Linked DNA regions of Homo sapiens: region 2 is linked to region 1. Evidence: promoter capture Hi-C in 16 types of primary human blood cells and fetal thymus (Javierre and others, 2016). All regions are on one chromosome and are shown on one strand. The core of a region is centred on a gene start or on the middle of the fragment in contact, and the rest is flanking DNA. Distances in the headings are between cores, read along the strand shown.

The links. The method cuts DNA at HindIII sites, captures the fragments that hold promoters and counts their contacts. A CHiCAGO score of 5 or more calls a contact.
Region 2: the fragment with the promoter of VAMP1 here is called in contact with a fragment that was not itself captured in region 1 in 1 of 17 cell types (non-activated CD4 T cells); the score reaches 5.2 in non-activated CD4 T cells.

Annotation. Positions count from the first base shown.
Region 1 is chr12:6,146,420-6,150,411 of GRCh38, forward strand. LOC124902866 (a long non-coding RNA gene) reads right to left here. Exons shown (of 2, transcript XR_007063189.1): 2 at 3,333-3,666. Among named protein-coding and RNA genes, the nearest start is that of VWF, 24 kb to the left of the region's middle. The HindIII fragment of the contact is 4,885 bases long and covers 1-3,992 here.
Region 2 is chr12:6,468,993-6,472,984 of GRCh38, forward strand. VAMP1 (vesicle associated membrane protein 1) reads right to left here and starts at 1,685. Exons shown (of 5, transcript NM_014231.5): 1 at 1,538-1,685. The coding sequence starts at 1,539. It also overlaps a transcript of TAPBPL not described here. RefSeq lists silencers at 1,167-1,216, 1,717-1,766, 1,977-2,236. The HindIII fragment of the contact is 5,218 bases long and covers 1-2,255 here.

The DNA.
Region 1 (3,992 bases), core at 410-2,909:
ACCGCTAGTATTTATTTGGTATCTGGGCTAGGCTCTTGGGATATGAAGGTGAGTGAAAAAACACACCATTCTCTGCCCTCATGGAGCTTATGATCTGTTGACAGGACCGACATTAATCCAAACAAATTATAACTACAAACAGTGATGAGAGTAAGACACGTGGTGCCAGGGAGGCATACAAGTAATAGATTCCCACCCAAACTGAGAGGGCCGGGGGGTGTGGGCAGAGAAGTCCTCCCTGAAGAGGTACAACTGAACTGAGTTCTATGGGATGAGTAGGAGTAAAGCCAGGCAAAGGTTGGTGGGCACACTTCAGGCCATGGGAATAGCACGTGCAAAGGCCCAGCTGCAGGAGGAGGCTACCTACCAAGACACTGAAAGACAGTCTGTGGCTGCAACACAGATCAGGGGAAGCATGGTGGACGACAGGGCTGGAGAGGTAGGAAGGGGTCAGATGAAACGTTACTCCTTTCTGCGATGCATTTTGGTTTTCAGGGCAATTTCCCAGACCAGACTTCATTAGAGCCTTACGCTACCACCATGAGTTAGCAAGAGCAGGCAGTATTGTTCCCAATTTGCACATGAAGAAGTGAATGCTCAGCAAAGTTGTCAGAGGCATTCGAACCAGAATGACTCCATTTTGAGTGAGGACTAGGAAAATGAGGCTGAGACTTGCTGGGCTGCATTCTCAGAAAGTTAGGCATTATTAGCCTCTGCATGTTTACAGTTAAGGGAACAAATTAATCGTGTTTACTGAACAGGCCCAGACTTGGGAGTGTCCAGATAACCTGGTACAAAGGTATTCCTTTTTTTTTTTTTTTTTTGAGACGGAGTCTTACTCTGTTGACCAGGCAGGAGTGCAGTGGCACGATGTCGGCTCACTGCAAACTCTGCCTCCCAGATTCAAGCAATTCCCTGCCCCAGCCTTCCAAGTAGCTGGGATTACAGGCGCCCACCACCACACCCGGCTAATTTTTGTATTTTTAGTAGAGACAGGGTTTCGCCATGTTGGCCAGGCTGGTATTGAACTCCTGACCTCATGATCCACCCACCTCAACCTCCTAAAGTGCTGGGATTACAGGCGTGAGCCACTGTGCCCAGCTGAACAAAGGTATTCCTAATTTTGCTTTAAAGATAATAATATCAATTCCTGCAAAATATAGTAATTAAGAAAATTAATCCTTTATCACAAACCTTGTAGCAGAGCACATCTCCCCATATATACAAGCATTGTACGTAGGTTGGATGCGTTCCTCCTCTTACTTTCGGGAACGTCCTACTGTGTCTATGGAGTGGATGTTCTTTCACCACTTTACTTCCTTAATAAACTTGCTTTGCCTTTGCACTGCGGACTCACCCTGAATTCTTCCTTGCTCGAGATCCAAGAACCCTCTCTTGGGGTCTGGATCGGGACCCCCTTTCCTGTAACATATTTCTGGCGAACACAGAAGGCACTATAGTACAGAAACCCTGACCCAACGGCTACCTTTGGGTAAATGGTGGAGTCCTGTAACAAAGTGACTTGCCAGAGGCCACGCAGCGAGGGAGTCAAACAGCCTATGCTTACTCCTTGCCCTCCAACTCCTGGCCCAGTGCTCTCTGCTCCCACTGCCTATTCCTGATCCTGTTCAGTCTTCCTTATGGTTCAGCTCCCAAATCCCAAAGTGAAGGCATCAGGTCTCACAGTTGGAAAGGACTTTAGGGAAGGACACCTCTTCTAGGATTCTCCCAATTTGCATCTTGCAAAACTGAAGGACCCCAGGGTCTCTGGCTGAGCTCTTCCTGATTTACTCTAAGATACAAGCAAAATCCTTTTAGTTCAGACTTGATTGGTGGGGAAAGGCCTTGGGATGATGTGAGCTGGACCAAGCAATCCCTGCCTATAATTTCATTAGTCCACAGTTCCAGGCTTCTACTTTGAGACACAGAAAATTTCTCTTGTGAACCAGGCCACATCCTCTCACAGGAGGCTTTTACTCACACATTCACACGCCGTGAGAACTTTCTCCTTGTCTCTGTGCCTTCCTGAAACATAAGTATCATTAACTATTTAAAATGGACTTTCATACTACAGATGGTGAGTTGATTTAAGGAAAATACACTTATCTTATTCCTCTTCCTCAAATACTACAGGACAAAGTTTTCTGTTGTTCTAAATTTTTGGCTTCTCTCTGTGAAACTGAATTACCTGCTATAATTTGCACAGAAAATGTAATGCATCCCCCACTGTGGGCCTTGAGCAAGCTGCCACCTTCAAGCACCTTCAAGCCATTCACCAAGGATGGAACCTCTTGCTCAAAGAAGAAAGCCAAAGTGTTTAAGATACTGACCTGTAGCAAGCAAACAGTGAGACATAATCACACTCTTGACTTGAACTAATAGCGTATATATTTTATCACAAATCTTGGAAATGACAGAAGTCTTGGGCTGGGCGCAGTGGCTCATGCCTGTAATCCCAGCACGTGGGGAGGCCGAGGCGCGCGATCACCTGAGGTCAGAAGTTTGAGACCAGCCCGGCCAACATGGTGAAACCCTGTCTCTACTAAAAATACGAAAATTAGCTGGGCGTGGTGGCTGGCGTCTGTAATCCCAGCTACTCAGGAGGCTGAGGCAGAAGAACTGCTTGAACCCAGGAGGCGGAGGTTGCAGTGAGTGGAGATTGCGCCATTGCACTCTAGCCTGCGCGGCAGAGCAAGACTCCATCTCAAAAAAGAAAAAAGAAAAAAAAAAGTCTCAGATAGAGTCCTGGAGGTCTGAGGCTCTATCTGCTTCCTCCTCCATCTTGAGAAAGTGACTGACCCTCTCTGGCACTCTTTTACCCAAAGTAGCCAGGGTGTGTGTGGTTTGTAATTTTTTTTTTTTTTTTTTTTTTTTTGAGACGGAGTCTCACACTGTCGCCCAGGCTGGAGTGTAGTGGCGAGATCTCGGCTCACTGCAAGCTCCGCCTTCTGGGTTCCTGCCATTCTCCTGCCTCAGCCTCCCAAGTAGCTACGACTACAGGCGCCCGCCACCATGCCCGGCTAATTTTTTGTATTTTGTTTAGGGGAGACGGGGTTTCACCGTGTTAGCCAGGATGGTCTAGATCTCCTGACCTCGTGATCCGCCCACTTCGGCCTCCCAAAGTGCTGGGATTACAGGCGTGAGCCACCGCATCCAGTCGTGTGTGTGTAATTCTTATCTGTGTTTTTAAATGTGGATTTCCAGCTTCACTTGGAAGACTGGAAGTTGTTGGAAAGGCGGGTCTTCTCTCTTGGGATGGGCATGTTCTCTCCAGTTTCCAGTCCCTTCTACACCCTATCACATCTCCAACATGAGGTCCAAACCAGTTGTCATTTATCTTTTTACTTACTTCGTCTTTTTATTGAAGTACAAAAACATTTCTTTGTAGCACTTCTCTATCAAGAGGGGAAAAAAATAAGACACACCAAGACAGCTGTAAGTTTCAAGAAAAATAAGAGGCCGGATTCTTTGTAGAAGCTGAAGAATATTCCTCTGCAATTGGTTGGCTTCCTCAGTGGTTCGGCTTCAGGATCCCGCAGAGGTTGGCTAAGGCCCAGTCAGCCAAAGGCGCCAGCACGACTGGGACTGGAAGATCCACTTCCAAGACGGCTCATGCACGGTGCTGCCCAGCTGGTGCTGTAGCTGGCAGGAGGCCTGGATTCCCTGCTGCACTGGGTGACCAGATTTTCCCAGAGCAAGAGTCCAAGAGAGAGAAAAATGAAAGATACAAGGTTTTTTTATGATCTGGCCTCAGGAGTCTTATTTCCACAATATCCTATTGGTTATACAAGTCAGCCCTACTCAACATCAGACTACACAAGGGTGGGACTGGTGAAATAAGATTCACTGGAGGGCTATCTTGAAAGGTGGATACCACATAATTCCATGACGTTTATAAACGACATACCTAAAATATAAGGACATGAAAGTGTTTGAAGCAAAGCTGGAGTAGTTGTTAGTAATATGGGACAAAATAGACTTTGGGGAAATAA
Region 2 (3,992 bases), core at 435-2,934, 320 kb after region 1:
TACAATAGAACTAATACCCAGAAGCTCATTCTCCTTGATTAAGTGAATTTCTTTTAGTCTAAAAAGATAGAGAATAACTCCTCAGAGAGGCTATGGTAGCAGATTACACCTGACTCATTCCCCATTTGAAGAATCACTTTTCCATTTCCCTCTAAGGTGCAAAGGAGGTAAAGCAAAGATAGACACAAAGTCATGGGAGCCACAAGACTCTTGTCCTGCCACTGAGCTAGCTAAGCAATCTAGCTCTCGACTTAAGGCAGAAAATTCAATGAGTAGGTAGCAGCCAGTGTTGGAAGCAGTCCAGGATGGTAGCACCAATGACAAGATTAAGGTCAGAGACCTCGTGATGCCCCGCTAGCCACCACGATTTTTCTGTTGCCTTCTGTTCATCCCACGTAGATACTATCTGGAAGCCCCCTCCCCAAAATGAAAACAACTGGAATTCTACGGCTTGCCCAAAATGCATAGAACACTCATATCTGGTTAAAACCATAGAAATCAAAAAGAAAAAGTGAAATGGCTATGAAGTATTTGCAAGGCCAATTTCACTTACTACTTGTTGGGAGTTGGAAACACTCAACAGTAAAATATCTAGGGATAATTACAACCCTTATGTAACACAAGTAAATCTTTCCCTTTTTTGTCACTTAGAGAAGCAACATAAATACATCTAGGACCAGGCCAGGGTAGTAATCAGAAAGAAAAATCTGTATTAGACATATTGAGGTCTTGACAGAGAAGTACTTCGTTTGTTTAGCCGTAGTTTTCCCTCAAGATCATGCGAAGGGGGTGATGTTGAAGACTGCTGGAGACTAAACTGTGTGTGTTGGAGGAAAGGGGGAAAGCTCAGCTCTCCCTATTTCTCCTCCAACTATTTGGTAAGACTCGGTGATAGAAAAACATCTCCTATACGAATGGCCTTGGTATGAACAGCCGCTTGGGATGACAGGCCACTATCCCACTACCCCTTGAGTCTTTCTGAGCTGCTCACCTGGTGCCAGAGAACTGGCAGATAAGTTTCTGCAGCTTTGCTCACTGCCATGAGGGGGGCTAGACATCACACTTTGGGTGAGGGGTAAACAAATCCAGAGATTGTAGGGCAACATAAGTTACCAACTGGCAGTTGCACCCATGACTGTCTTTCCTGAGGCGCTGAGTAGTGATTTAGCCAGATGACAGAAATACCTTTCGAGTCCCCTGCCCAGTTGTCTCCATCCACCACCCCCAGCCCCCGCCCTCTCCGAGTCTCCACTATACCAAAACCAGAATGAGGCGCCACTCAGACGAGAGGAGAGGGTGCAATGATTGTGGGACCCCTGCGCCCCTGCCCCGCCCGTGGGGTGCTAGCTGTGGCTGGTGCGAGAATGGGGTGCTGGCCCCCCTCCCTGGGGGTGGCCCGGTCCGGAAGCGGCGCGCGGTGGTAGTTCCCCGCGTTGCTGCAGCTGCTGCATTGCGCCATTTTCCGTCCCGCAGAATCGGGAGCTTGGGGCGAGAGTTGTCAAGGAGGTGCCGAGCCCCCACACCAGAGTCAACTCACATTTTTCTGACAGAGAGAGTGAGGGTCTGTTCCTCTCCGGAGGCTGCGGCGAGACACCCGGTGAGGGACGCTGCGGCTGAAGTGGACGGAACTGCCAAGCTCCGCCTCGCGCCGACTACCCCGCGGTCTAGCTGCGCTGGAACTTACTGCAGCTGCCGCGCCGGCCTCCGCCTTTATTAGTGCTGACCACGCCTCCCGGATAACGGTGACAACCCCGCGGCCCAATCCATGCCCAGGACGGTCGCCCAGCGCTACAGGCCTAGCCCGCCCCGCCCCTGCCAATTGCCAGTCACAACTCTCCTCTCATCCGACTCCGGAAAGGAGCGGTTGCTGTGAGGATCCTTCAGTGATCAATGCGACCATAGTTTGCGCTCCAGTCTGGCGGAGGGACGGGGCGGGGTGGAGATGAGGTCTGTCCCTTCGGAGGGCGCTTCAGCAGTTTGTTAGGCATTTGTGGTGCCTCCCAACCAATCGCTAGGCAGTTACTGAAGACCGTGCCCGCCCCTGCCCCACCCCGCGCCGGGACTCGCGCATTCAGCTGGAGGCGGCGGCTTCCTGGTGCGCGCCCAGCCCTGGTGCCCTGCTCTGGCCCTCGCTCCGCACCACCGCCCCGCCTCTAACTAACGCTCTGAGAGGGTGCAGGAGCCTCGAGACACAGCCACAAGCTCCTGGTGCCAGATACCGGATGCGGGGTTCCGTCCCACCAAAGCAAGCACGAAGCTTTCGTTCATTCGTTTCTTTCAACATAGCCTTCCTAAATTGAACTCCCTCCCAAACCTGCTCCAGTCGAGGTTACCACATCGACTCAGTTGCCCAGACCAGAAACGTGGAAACCATCCTAGATTTCCTCCCCTTCACCTTTACCTCTCCCCCAGTAATCTGCCAAATCGAGTTGATTTTTCCTTCTTGGCATTCCAGTGATTATCTCCCCTCTGCTCACTATTATCCCTTTCCTGGACTCCATCAGTTGGAAAATTCACCATTATTTTATGTCCCGCTAAGAAAAAAGGTTACAAGGCCGGGCGCAGTGGCTCACACCTGTAATCCCAGCACTTTGGGAGGCCGAGTCAGGCAGATTACCTGAGATCAGGAGTTCGAGACCAGCCTGGCCAACATGGCGAAACCTCTGTCTCTACTAAAAATACAAAACAGCCAGGCATGGTGGCGGGCGCCTGTAATCCCAGCTACTCGTGAGGCTGAGATAAGAGAATCGCTTGAAGCCGGGAGCCGACGGTTGCAGTGAGCCGAGATCACGCCACTGCACTCCAGCCTGGGCAACAGAGCAAGACCCTGTTTCAAAAAAAAAAAGAAAAAAGGTTGCAAATTATCTGTGACAAATGCTTTCCTTACCACTTAGCATTTTTGTTTTACATGTATTGAAAATATGGGTTTATATACATACCGATTTCTATATTTCACTCTTGTGCATGCATAAAAAGGGAAATAGAAAACAATAACATGGTAACTATCCCTAAAACTTCACAGAGACTGATTGTTAATGATTCACTTTTTTGACTCAGTCTTGGATGTCCACTAATTTCCACGCAATGTAGTCCTCTGTGCATTTCATAAGGGCTTTGGTGATGCAGCATTTCCTAAGAGTGTTCCTCTCCAGGCTCTAGAGTTTTCTTCCAAGCCTCAGACACCCATTTGGCAAGCTTTGATGCTCATGAGCAGGTATGACAAATATAGTTTGACTGCTGTCTGACTAATAGCTAAAGTGAAACATCCCAATTAGAAGATATTGAAATGCAAAAAAACAAACAAACAAGCACACACAAAAAACCCAAGTGCCTCCTAAGATCAATGATACATCATTCTGCTTCCAGTCTTGCCATCCTTTACATCTATTCTCTAAAAAGTCCACCAAAGTTATCTATCCAAATGTCACAAGTCTTCTTAAGGAAACAATTGCACTTGGAAACATAATGCATTCATCATATGTGTTTATCCCATTCTCCTCCTGAAACCACATCAAAATGGCAAGTTAGGGGGAAAAATGACAATTTGGGAAAATTTGCAAAAAATTATAAGCCCCCAAAGACAAAAAGAATGGGGCCGGGCGTGGTGGCTCACTCCCGTAGTCCCAGCTATTTGGGGGGCTGAGGCGGAAGGACAGCTTGAGCCCAGATGTTCCGGTTGCAGTGAGCCGAGATCACGCCACTGCACTCCCACCTGGGTGACAAAATGAGACCCTATCTCCAAAAGAAAAGAAAAAGGGCCAGGCGCAGTAACTCACACCTGTAATCCCAGCAATGTGGGAGGCCAAGGAGGGCGGATCACTTGAAGCCAGGAGTTCAAGACCAACCTGGCTAACGCAGCAAAATCCCGTCTCTACTAAAAATACAAAAATTAGCTGGGCATGGACGCCTGTAGTCCCAGCTACTCGGGAGACTGAGGCAGGAGGATCACTTGAACCCGGGAGGCGGAGGCTGCAGTAAGCCGAGATCTTGCC